4 separate regions of the Homo sapiens genome follow, and regions 1, 2 and 4 are each linked to region 3. Evidence: promoter capture Hi-C in 16 types of primary human blood cells and fetal thymus (Javierre and others, 2016). All regions are on one chromosome and are shown on one strand. The core of a region is centred on a gene start or on the middle of the fragment in contact, and the rest is flanking DNA. Distances in the headings are between cores, read along the strand shown. Region 1 holds the start of TULP4 (TUB like protein 4). Region 2 holds the start of SERAC1 (serine active site containing 1). Region 3 holds the start of LINC02901 (long intergenic non-protein coding RNA 2901). Region 4 holds the start of ACAT2 (acetyl-CoA acetyltransferase 2).

The links. The method cuts DNA at HindIII sites, captures the fragments that hold promoters and counts their contacts. A CHiCAGO score of 5 or more calls a contact.
Region 1: a contact is called between the fragment with the promoter of TULP4 here and the fragment with the promoter of LINC02901 in region 3, in 2 of 17 cell types (activated CD4 T cells and fetal thymus). The highest score is 7.0, in activated CD4 T cells.
Region 2: a contact is called between the fragment with the promoter of SERAC1 here and the fragment with the promoter of LINC02901 in region 3, in 1 of 17 cell types (fetal thymus). The highest score is 7.5, in fetal thymus.
Region 4: the fragment with the promoter of ACAT2 here is called in contact with the fragment with the promoter of LINC02901 in region 3 in 3 of 17 cell types (naive CD4 T cells, fetal thymus and erythroblasts); the score reaches 5.5 in naive CD4 T cells.

What each region holds. Positions count from the first base shown.
Region 1 is chr6:158,311,050-158,313,749 of GRCh38, reverse strand. It overlaps TULP4 (TUB like protein 4), which reads right to left and starts at 1,285. Exons shown (of 14, transcript NM_020245.5): 1 at 1-1,285. The HindIII fragment of the contact is 1,254 bases long and covers 979-2,232 here.
Region 2 is chr6:158,166,965-158,169,664 of GRCh38, reverse strand. It overlaps SERAC1 (serine active site containing 1), which reads left to right and starts at 1,403. Exons shown (of 17, transcript NM_032861.4): 1 at 1,403-1,525. GTF2H5 (general transcription factor IIH subunit 5) reads right to left here and starts at 1,315. Exons shown (of 3, transcript NM_207118.3): 1 at 1,270-1,315. RefSeq lists silencers at 1,316-1,495, 1,536-1,605. The HindIII fragment of the contact is 13,828 bases long and covers 1-2,700 here.
Region 3 is chr6:158,868,366-158,871,065 of GRCh38, reverse strand. It overlaps LINC02901 (long intergenic non-protein coding RNA 2901), which reads right to left and starts at 1,252. Exons shown (of 3, transcript NR_160980.1): 1 at 1,089-1,252. RefSeq lists enhancers at 259-932, 863-1,032, 933-1,605, 1,606-2,278 and a silencer at 1,113-1,432. The HindIII fragment of the contact is 6,622 bases long and covers 1-2,676 here.
Region 4 is chr6:159,760,619-159,763,318 of GRCh38, reverse strand. ACAT2 (acetyl-CoA acetyltransferase 2) reads right to left here and starts at 1,274. Exons shown (of 9, transcript NM_005891.3): 1 at 1,177-1,274; 2 at 266-400. The coding sequence starts at 1,231. It overlaps SOD2-OT1 (SOD2 overlapping transcript 1), which reads left to right and starts at 987. Exons shown (of 2, transcript NR_037166.1): 1 at 987-1,325; 2 at 1,683-2,700. It also overlaps a transcript of SOD2 not described here. RefSeq lists silencers at 1,302-1,451, 1,472-1,531 and an enhancer at 1,962-2,021. The HindIII fragment of the contact is 5,525 bases long and covers 1-2,071 here.

The DNA.
Region 1 (2,700 bases), core at 36-2,535, 560 kb after region 3:
AAGTTCTCAGAGGAAGAACGTGCTGATCCTTTGGAGAAAGAGCATCGTTAATTAAGTGGTGATCAAGAAACGGTTTTCTTCTTTTTACTCCACTTGGTTATTCTCATTCAGCCTGAGATTCCAGTTTAGTGTAATATGATTCCAGAGACAAAGGGTTGCAAATACATAGATTTCAAGTAACTTAAGGCTTTAAGAATCCCTCTAGCTCGAATTTTTCTCTTCAAAAGTTCGGATGCAGAGACAGAATACACAGGATCATCTTCCTTCTGAAGCCACCCTCTAGCATGTTTCCTGAACTAGACAAATTTCTGCTGCTAAAGCTGAAAAAGATTGCATAAAGGGAAAAAAAGGCACACAAACCGTGCAAAACAGACCAGAGTTTGTGCAGACAAGAGTCCAAATTTTAGGAAGAAAAACAGACTCTCTCCTTGTTGTTTCAGAACCAGAAACTTTCCACCTCAAAGCTTGGCCCTGTGTCCCCGGGGAACGCAGGGCTCCATCGGACTGCTCCTCCACCAGCCGGCGCACCCCTCAGTGCCATAGAGGCTAGAAAGAAGGCCCCTTCACTCAAGAGGCAGAATGTTCCAGCGCTCTTACAGTGGTCCCAGTGTTTGCCCTGGGTGAGTCTTAAATCCTCTTGCTGACAAAACAGAGCCACGTGGCAAGATTTTGTTTCTTTTGCTCGTCTCCCTTCTCGCTCCCCCAGTTAGCACTCCCCTTTTCTGCTCCTAAAGATCTTTTTCCATCTTGATGAAAAAAGCTAATCTTAGAATTAAGTCCATCAGGTAATCTTCTCATACGCAAGTCTTCTTGGACTTGACAGGGAAGTTAATCCCTTAAAACAAAAGCAGAAGCCAGAGTCAGATTCCCCCAGCTGTCTCCCTAGAGAGTGATAGTGTTTTGCTGATGGGTGCTTTCCTGTTCACATTCAGAGACTGTCTCCAAACACCACACCACTAGTCCAACAAAAAGAAAGCTTTGCTTGGATTTTCCTTGATATTTATTTAATAATTATTGGTTTCAATTGCTATTTTACAATATTATCCTATAGATGCAGGAAAAAAGGGGGGGAATAATAAATTAAAATTTCTCAAATACAGTTAATTAAGATAGGCAAAGGAATCAGTTCATTATTCAAACTTGTCCCATCATACTTGAACTTGCTTTCCTCTAGCCATAACCACAGTAGGAGTTACTTTTCAGTCTAGAATTTTAATCCGTCCAAATCACCAAACCCACTGAAAAATAAAGTGCAACAAACACTGTGTGAGCCGCTGCAATGTTTGAAATCACACTTCTTTCTCAGTCACCTTCTCACTTAGTTCCTTCTTTAAACTGGAGAATATTTTTGTGGTTTAATCTGCGCAAATTTTTTTTTCTTCTTTTTGCAGACTTTCTTTACCCGTGCAGACCATATGGAAAACTGGCCATTAGTGATGTATTTTTCTCCCCGGGCTCCTGAGCCCACTGGTGTCAAGTTGCTCCATCTGATTCTTAAATTAATTTTCATCAGTTGTAAAACTCTCAAGTGTGCACAAGAATGAGCCTGTCTTCCCGTGTGAATGTGTAAGTACAGAAAGAAGGTTTTAAATGCACATAGACACACACTCTTCAACTGCCATACGAAGCGTCTGCTTCCCCAGTCATTTCAGGAACCATCAGATTATTCACGGCTGGGAGGCCCTGGAGTCTTACAAATCTGTTTAAAAAAAAAAAAAGATATAAAATTTAAAAACTTTAAAACACTGGAAAATAAAGGTTTTAAGAATAATTGCTGAAACTGAAATGAGAGACCCATCTTTACACTTACATCAAATGGAGCTACTGACTGCACTGAATGGTAAAATCCAATAGTGAAAGGATACACCTCACCAGACTCAAGACAACACACAACAAATGAGAGTTCTGCCTGCCACTGATCGTTGTATTCAATTTGTCAGCAGCTGGGCACATCTGAATGAAATCATAACTGCCATTCTTCCACACTGAACTGTACTTTCTAAGAGACTGAACTCCGAATGTGAGACTCTACCCCTCCAGAGACCATGGTCGCTGTTTAAGCAGGCATCCTCAAAAAGGAGACTGAAATGACTCAGGCAAGTTATCTGGATTGATTTTTTCACGATTAATAAAAGATATTCCCTCAAGACACAAAGCAGTAAGGGCCTTTAAAACTCATTCGTCCCTGATGGCTGGCAGGTCTCGGAGCAAAGCGCAGCTGTTTTCTAAGCTTTTATGTGGTCTACCAGCAATAAAGTTCTAGAGAATCTGTCTCTAGCAAATCCATTCCATCTTCTTCCTACTGCCTGAAGTCCAGGCTGCATCACATCCTCTACAAACACGAGAACACTCTGTCCCTAACTTACTCATCCTCCCTGCCCTCCCGCCCCGCCAGTCCTTCCAGAAAGCAGAGTGGACTTTCTCAAATTCAGCAGACTCTCTCAGTCTCCTGGGGCAGCTGAAGCGGCCCAGCCCCATCCCACAGGAACTGGACACTGAAAGGGAAGGGAAGGGCCCAGGTGTTCGCATTTCTAATAAGCTCCCAAGAGATGCTAATGCTGCTGGGCAGGGAACCAGGCTTTGAGAACTACTGGCCTGTAGCATCAAGTCCCAGCAAAAGACTCTACTTTCATCATAATACTAGGACATAATTTGCCTTCTTCCGTGTTCACATTTGTACCCATGGTGCAAAATCAACAG
Region 2 (2,700 bases), core at 154-2,653, 700 kb after region 3:
TATATTATATGTAATATACAATATATGTAATATACAATATATTATATGTAATATACAATATATGTAATATACAATATATTATATATAATATACAATATATTATATATAATATACAGTATATTATATATAATATACTGTATATTATATATAATATACAATATATTATATAATATACAATATATTATATATAATATACAATATAATATATATAATATATAATATATATAATATACAATATATTATATATAATATATAATATACAATATAATATTATATATAATATATAATATACATATTATATATATGTATTATATATAATATACGTATTATATATAATATACATAATATACATATTATATATTATATATAAAATAAATATATATTATATATAAAATACATATATAATATATATATATGTATATATACACTTCGAGACAGAGTCTCACTCTGTCGCCCAGGCTGGAGCGCAGTGTCGTGATGTCGGCTCACTGCAACCTCTGCCTCCCGGGCTCAAGCGATTCTCCTGCCTCAGCCTCCCAAGCAGCGGGGACTACAGGCGCCCGCCACCACGCCAGGCCAAATTTTGTATTTTTAGTAGAGGCAGGGTTTCACCATGTTGGCCAGGCTGGTCTCGAACTCCTGATCTCAAATGATCCACCTACCTCGGCCTCCCAAAGTGCTGGGACAACAGGTGTGAGCCACCGCGCCAGGCCAATTTATTGTATTTTTAGTGGAGACGGGGTTTCACCATGTTGGCCAGGCTGGTCTCGAACTCCTGGCCTCAAGTGATTTGCCCGCCTCGGCCTCCCAATGTGCTGGGATTGCAGGCGTGAGCCACCGCGCCCGGCCTCAGCCACCTCATTTTACATATGAGGAGACCAAAGGAAGAGATTAAGCCGTAGTTCCTGGCCAAAGGAAAAAAGTACAAGCCAGATCTCCAGATCTTGTGCCCCTTCACTAAATAAATCACGTCCCGTGCGGACCTAGGCTGGAAACAAACCACTCAGCGTACGCCCATTTAATTAACTTCCACTTACACCTGGGCGCAGGGCGAGCCCTAGCCCCACAGGAAACCCACGATTAAACGAGGGGGGGACTGCCGTGCGGCCCCGCCAGGAAGGGCCCGGAGAGAGTGGGGGACACCGCCCTGTGCCCCCAGCACCCGGTGGACAGGCTTCTGGGGCTTTTCTCTTCCTCTCCCCTTTCTTTGGGACCCCTCAGTGTTCCCACACCCCACTTTCCCCAGCCGCTCGGACGCTCGCCACACACCTCGGCCCACAGATGCAGAAGCGCCTCGGCGTTGCCGGCAGAGTGCGCCTGCGCCGATACGCCATCGCGCTAGGGACGCTATTGTGGGTGGAGCCAGCCGGCGGGAGGCGGGCCCAGAGCGGGCCGAGGGGGCGGGGTCACGAGCCGCCAGCCGCCGGGTGGAGGGTCCCGGCCGGGAGCCGCGGAAAGAGTAGGGCTCCCCAGACAACGGGGTCCGACGAGCAGTTGGGCACGGGCTGAGTCCGCCTGCCGGCAGGTAGGACGTGAAGGCAGGGGTGGTGTGGGGGCGGACGGGGGCGTCGGCGCAGCTGGGCGCGGTGGGGAGCGGAGAATGGGGAGGGCAGGGACCGGGCACGGCCGAGCACCGCCGTCTGGCGCGCGGACCGGACCGACCAGCTGACGCTCGGCTGGGCGTGAGGGCCTCTCTCTCTGGTGGTCGCGAGCCTGACTCGTCTTTCCCTGTCGCTGCCTTTCTCTGGCTGCTGTCGAGGCCTTGGGGAGTGCACCTGCCGGTCCGTCTTCCCGGGCTCGGTAGTCACGGAGAGATGAGGAGGAGGAGGAAAGGGCCTCACCAGTCACTTCTGAGCCTTGCAGACCACCGCTTCCTGCTCCCTCTCTAACCCCAGAGATGGAATAGATTGAATGCTGAGAGAGCTCTAAACTCGGCAACGGTCATTTTAAAGTGAAAGACCCCAGAAGGTTCTAAAGTTACTCCCTTTCCCCAAGTCTGTTCTGTAAGTCTAAAGGAACACTGTCATTATTTTTACTAGTTGAGATATGAGATTCTTGTTTTCTGTTCCTTAGGTTAAATTGTACTTCCCGCATTAAGCTCATGCTGCCTTTTTTTTTTTTTTTTTTGAGATGGAGTCTCGGTCTGTCTGCCAGGCTGGAGTGCAGTGGCGCGATCTGGGCTCACTGCAACCTCCGTCTCCTGGGTTCAAGCAATTATCCTGCCTCATTCTCCCTAGTAACTGGGATTACAGGCGTGCGCTACCACGCCCGGCTGATTTTCGTATTTTTAGTAGACACGGGGTTTGTCCATGTTGGCCAGGCTGGTCTGGAATTCCTGACATCAGGTGATCCCCCGCCTCGGCCTCCCAGAGTGCTGCGATTACAGGTGTGAGCCACCGCGCCCGACCTCATGCTGCCTTTTTTTTTTTTTTTTTTTTTTTAACATCGTGTGTGTTCATGTGATCGCTAAGGAACCCAGCTCTTCCATTTAGTTCCCTCTTTCTATCCCTCAAATCTTTTCCAACTGGTGATTTCCATATTGTTGCACTCTCTTTAAAATAAAAAAATTGCCTCCAAGTCTTCTTCTTCCCAAGTATCTTTTATTTGCTTTTTTTCATCTTGCATACATTCTCTTCCTTGATCTCATCAGTTCCATTTTTGTGCACTTGATGTGTGTCAGCTATTATTCTAGACGCTTGG
Region 3 (2,700 bases), core at 3-2,502:
AATTACATGAAGTTTAAGAGTAGACACAACTCATACTTGGTAATTTAAGTCCAAATGAATAGTGGTTACCTCTGGGGAAGTACTACTGACCGGAAGGAGCAGTTGGAAACCTGGGGTGATGGAAATGTTCTAGATCTTGACCTAGGGGCTAATGACATGTGTATACATATGTAAAACTTCACCCAGCTGTCCTCTTAATTTCTGTGCGATTTATTGTGTGTAAATTATATCAGTTAGGAAAAAATAAGAAAAATGAAGGAATGATGGAGAAAAAAAGAAATGAAGAGAAACGTAACGAAGGAAGAAAGAAGGGAGGAAGGGAGGGAGGGAGAGAGGAAGGGGGGATTAAACCCAAGCACGGAGGGGGAGAGATGCTCCTCAAAAATATGCTATCAGTCATGTAGTGTTATTTATTTATTTATTGAGATGGAGTCTCGCTCTGTTGCCCAGGCTGGAGTGAGTGGCACGATCTCGGCTTACTGCAACCTCCACCTCCCAGGTTCAAGAGATCCTCCTGCCTCAGCCTCCCGAGTAGCTGCCATTACAAGCACACGCCATGGTGACCGGCTATTATCTGCATCTTAAAGATGGGGAAAGTTTGAGGTTTCCTGATGTGTTCAGCGTCACAGACTGGGTGAGTGACTCAAGCTGAGGCTAAAACCCAGGTGTGTAGGGCACCAAAGCCTTTGTGATTCCACCTCCTACAGCTCAGGTCACTTCCTCGGAGAAAGGTGACTCCTAGAAATGCCTCCCACCTGGAACTGATCTCCTCCTGGGAAGAACGTCTGTCTTATCGCCGTCGACCTTAGGCATGGACACCCTTCTGTCCCCCACCCACAACTGTGAGCCTGCTCAGGAGGCACAGCCGCGTTCATTCATTTTAGGCCTCCTCAAGGGCTCAGCGCCTGCTAAGCAGATGCGCGTTCCTGTAGGACAAGGGGTGGCCACTGGAGACGCGGGTGCGACGCAGGCGATCACGCCCTCGGACGACGCTGCGGACTGCGCTTCCTTCCGAAGAGGGAACCGTTGAGAAGAGTGAAGCGATGAGTTATGCCTCACTGGAAACCAACCGCGTCCGTGTGACTCACTTAGAAACTCACTGTTACATATTTGGAGCCTGAGCTGACGACCTTCCGGGTACACGTCAGGCAGAAGCAGGTGCGCGGTGGGAGTGTCCGCCCCGCCCCGCCGGTCGCGCCGGCCCCGCCCCCCTCACCTGCGCGCGCAACCCCACCCCAGCGCGAGGCTCTGCACCGGCCGCGCCCGCCATCCAGCTTTTATATGGCGCTATTTTGGTCGCGCGCCCTGATTGGCCGGGAGCGGGCGACGACACGCTCGCGCGCCTCAGGGAGGGGCCAAGATCTGGGGGAGGGGAGCTTCTGGCAGCCGCGCGGATCCGGGGGCGGCGGGGCGGGACTGCTGCGGTCTCTGGGGGTGCTTTGGGGCTTCTGTGCCTAGTCTGCAATCTGTTAGTGGGGTTATATTTTAATAAAAGAGCTTGTGTGTCCGAAGGGGATTTGCCAAGAACCAAACTCACCCTTCTGGGAGGGAGTTGCCAGATGGCGGGAACAGGCGGCGTAAACCTTACCAGACGTGAGCCCAGGCTGCTCAAGTGTCATTCGCGTCTTGAAGCTCTTGCCCGCCTCCCTTTGCAAGCGCGTCTAATGCCAACTCTACCTTGCCCTTTGCTAAACCAGCCCTCTAATGTGTTATCGTGCCTCACGTCAGACAATGGCTGGGCCTGTCTCTCTTTCCCCTTGGTTCTGTCCTCTGCCCTTCTCTTAAGCCAGAAGAACAAAACACTCCTTAGAATCGCTGGAGGATCTCATTTCCACCACATTCCCGTGTCCGGAGCCGAAGAGCCACGTCTGACCCTCACTGGTCTGGCTGTCCACCAATCAGGCAGCATTGCTTCTCTGAGTCTCAAGGTTATTAAATTTCTTCTGGTGGCAGACTGGTTTTGTACTTTGGTGAAAGTGACCAAATAGGTACGAAGTGTGATTCATCAAAAATTCTTACACTTAAAAAGATAAGCCAAAAGGATCATTCGAAGCCACCACTCCATATTAGATGGGAACTTAGCTTGAAAGGGGTTCTCTTAAGGATTTCTATTTACTTCTTTGAATTACAAATATCATCTCTGGTTGGAAAGCCTATAAACGCCTCTGAGATTTCCTGAGTTCACAACTTTGAAGATCATTTGCAGCTGGATGCAGAAAAAACAAACCTAGTAATTGTTGAATGTGGACATCAATAAGAATTAAGTACTTTTGGCCCAAAGGCAGTGGTTCACACCTGTAATCCTAGCACTTTGGGAGGTCGAGGCAGGAGGATAACCTGAGGTCAGGAGTTCCAGACCACCCTGGCCAACATGGTGAAACCCCATCTCTACTAAAAATACAAAAATTGGGTGGGCGTGTTGGCGCATGCCTGTAATCCCAGCTACTCAGGGCTGAGGCACCGAATTGCTTGAACCCAGGAGGCAGAGGCTGCAGTGAGCAGAGATCATGTCACTGCACTCCAGCCTGGGCGGCAGAGCAAGACTTGTCTCCAAAAAGAACTTTCAATGTGCCAGGCATTTTAAATGCTTAACAGGCATTTCATTTAATCCTCACAAAATCCCCATGACTTAGATACTATTATTATACCCATTTTACAGAAAGGGTCTAGAAAGCTTGCATAACATTGTGTCTGGACTTG
Region 4 (2,700 bases), core at 25-2,524, 890 kb before region 3:
CGCCTCCCAAAGTGCTGGGATTACAGGCGGGAGCCACCCTGCCTGGCCAAGAAGCTGAGTCTCAAGCTGGATAGAAGCTACTGACAGGGCTGGAAGAAGGGGGCCAACAGGAGGAATCATAACAGAGGGAACTCTGAGCAAAAGCAAGGAGGCAAGAACTTGAGTGAGTGAGAGAGTGTGTGAGTGTGTGAGAGTGTGTGTGTGTGTGTGTGTTTATGGGCTGTTTCTAATAAGCCTGACTTCTCCTGGAATCACTGAGACTTACCTGCTGCCAAGACATGTCCAAAGATGACCTCAGACACATCTTCCGGAGCCACAGTGGCCCTCTTCAAGACTTCTTTGATGACAGTGGAGCCCAGGTCCTGGACAGGAACAGCAGCTAAGGCACCATTGAAGGAACCTACAATAGAAAGGCGGAGAGCGTGGACATCACAAGCCTGCGGGTAATACGGGAACCACCTACGAGCAGGGGAGCCTCATGACCCTGTTTGGCAAGGCCACGCGAGGAGGCAGTGCCCTCTCCTCCCACACGTTCCTACACCTGCTGGTCTGAGCAAAGGTCAAGGTGGGTGCCACAACTCGCAGCAGCCGAGGGCTGGACAGGCGACCTCCAGAACGGCCTAGGGACGCCGCTGTAGCCCTTCTATTTCCCCAAATCCGAAGGACTGGATGCGACCCCATGCTTCCCAAACAAAAGGAACCGGCGGGTCAAGGGCGTTGAAAACCATGCGGCACGAAGGAGACGAAGTCACGACTTCTAGCCATTGTGTGACAGCCCGACCCCAGCCCAAAGCCGGGCTCAGACCACCTAGCAGTTCCGCCCCTGCCGCAGGCATTACCGATGGCGCCTCCCGGAGCCGGCCAATCAGGGGCCCCGGAGGAGAACACCTCCCTACGCCAACCAATGGGAGAGGCAGGCCACGCGATGGCTCTACCCCGGGAGCCAATCCAAGCACGAGGGACGGAGTGCGCACATCGGGAGAGGAGAGGGTGGGGCTGTAGCACCAGGTCAGGGAACGCGGGAGCCGCAGGGTTCCAGGGATCCCGCGGCTCCTCGCGGCTTGGCCTGACCGGCTTCCTCCACATACGCCCCTCTCCTACACAAGTCCGGCCCTCGGCGCTCCTGCCGAAGCAGCAGGCGCCTCGGACTCTGCGCGGCTCCCGCCGGCCACTCACCTATGATGGTCCGCGCCGCCGAGACGATGACCACAGGATCTGAGCCTGCATTCATCTTGCTTCTCCTGCCGCCGTCTGCCCTGCGCTGCCTGCAAGCTAGGCAAAGCTCCTCCTCGCAGCCCACAGGCCTGCCGCGGGCGGGACCTGAGGTAGCCCCGCCCCTCGCCCTCCACCTCCCCGCGCACCACCTCCCCGCGCATCCCACTGTGCGCAGGCGCAAGGCCGGAGCAGGGGCGGGCGGAGGCGCGCGGGGCGCGGGGCGCGGGGCGCGGGGCGGAAGTGAGGCCGGGGCGCGGGGCGCGGGGCGGAAGTGAGGCCGGGGTCTGGGCTTGCGGGCAGAACCGCGGACCTCGGACGCATTTACAGAGCGCCTGAAACCCCAGTGTTTCTGGACACCCCAATGTTGGAGTTCCCCGACTTGACGTCTTGGGCTTTTTTTTAAAAAATCTTAGGGTTTCTCGAAACAGTAAAGACTGGGGGGTGACAAAGACTTATCTCTCGTTCAGCTCAGGACTGGAATCCCACGGGCGAGAATCTCGAGTGCGAGCCCGGCCCGCGGCGGGTCTCAGCACAGCTCTGATGGGTCCTTTTGCTCTCGGCGGCTTCGGGAGGTCCTATGCGTTTCTCCTGGCGCCAGTCATTCGCTCGCGTGAGGGGCTTGCTAGGAGCGTCTCGGTGCGAGCCCCCTGCCTTCTAAGATCAACTCTGGCTGTGAACGGGTGAGGACGCCGGGAGCGTCTTAGCGTCACAAAAGTTCCTTTGGTTGACGTTTGGACAGTGAAAGGAGCATGTAACAAGTGGGGTCAGTTTTGTTTAAAACCCTTTCTGACTTCCCAGCCTCTTACTGGGCAAAGTTCATAATTTTTCTGAGCTTTCTAGGGTTTCCAGGCAAGCTTATGAGGGGCCACCGTTACAGCAACTTGTTGGGAACACCTGGATAGTGGAACAAGAAAGCTTTGTCACAAAGTCATGAAGGGGAAAACTGTTGACGGACCTGGAGAATCTTCCTGAAGAACTTTAAAGTTGATTGAAAGAATCATTAAATCCTGGAAACCTACATTAAGACTTTGCAGAGATATGCGGATGGGTCAGATAAATCAGAGAAGGTAAAGAGTGTAGGCCCCAGAGGTGGGGCAATAGAGAAGGAAAAAAATTGCATAACAGTGCAATTTCAGGAGAAATCTTTAGGGTCTGGAATAGTGGTGAAATCAGCTGTCTACTCTGCTAAGAACTCAGCAGCACACTGAAGTCTCTTCAGTTGTCTTCAATGTGTTTCCTGTCCCCTAACATATCTGAGTCCAAGGAATTCAAGGAATGCCTCCCGTGGCTTTTGCTCTATTCTATCCCATTTTCCCCTTACTCCCTGGCCACTTCTGAGTCTTTGTGGGCTTACTCTCACATCCCCTTAACATGTTCCCCAAGGCTCCTACTTTGCACCAGCTCCCTGGGTAATACCAGTCATTCCTACGGCATCAATCACCACCTGTATACTGACAAGTCTGAAATCCTTACATCTAACCTCGT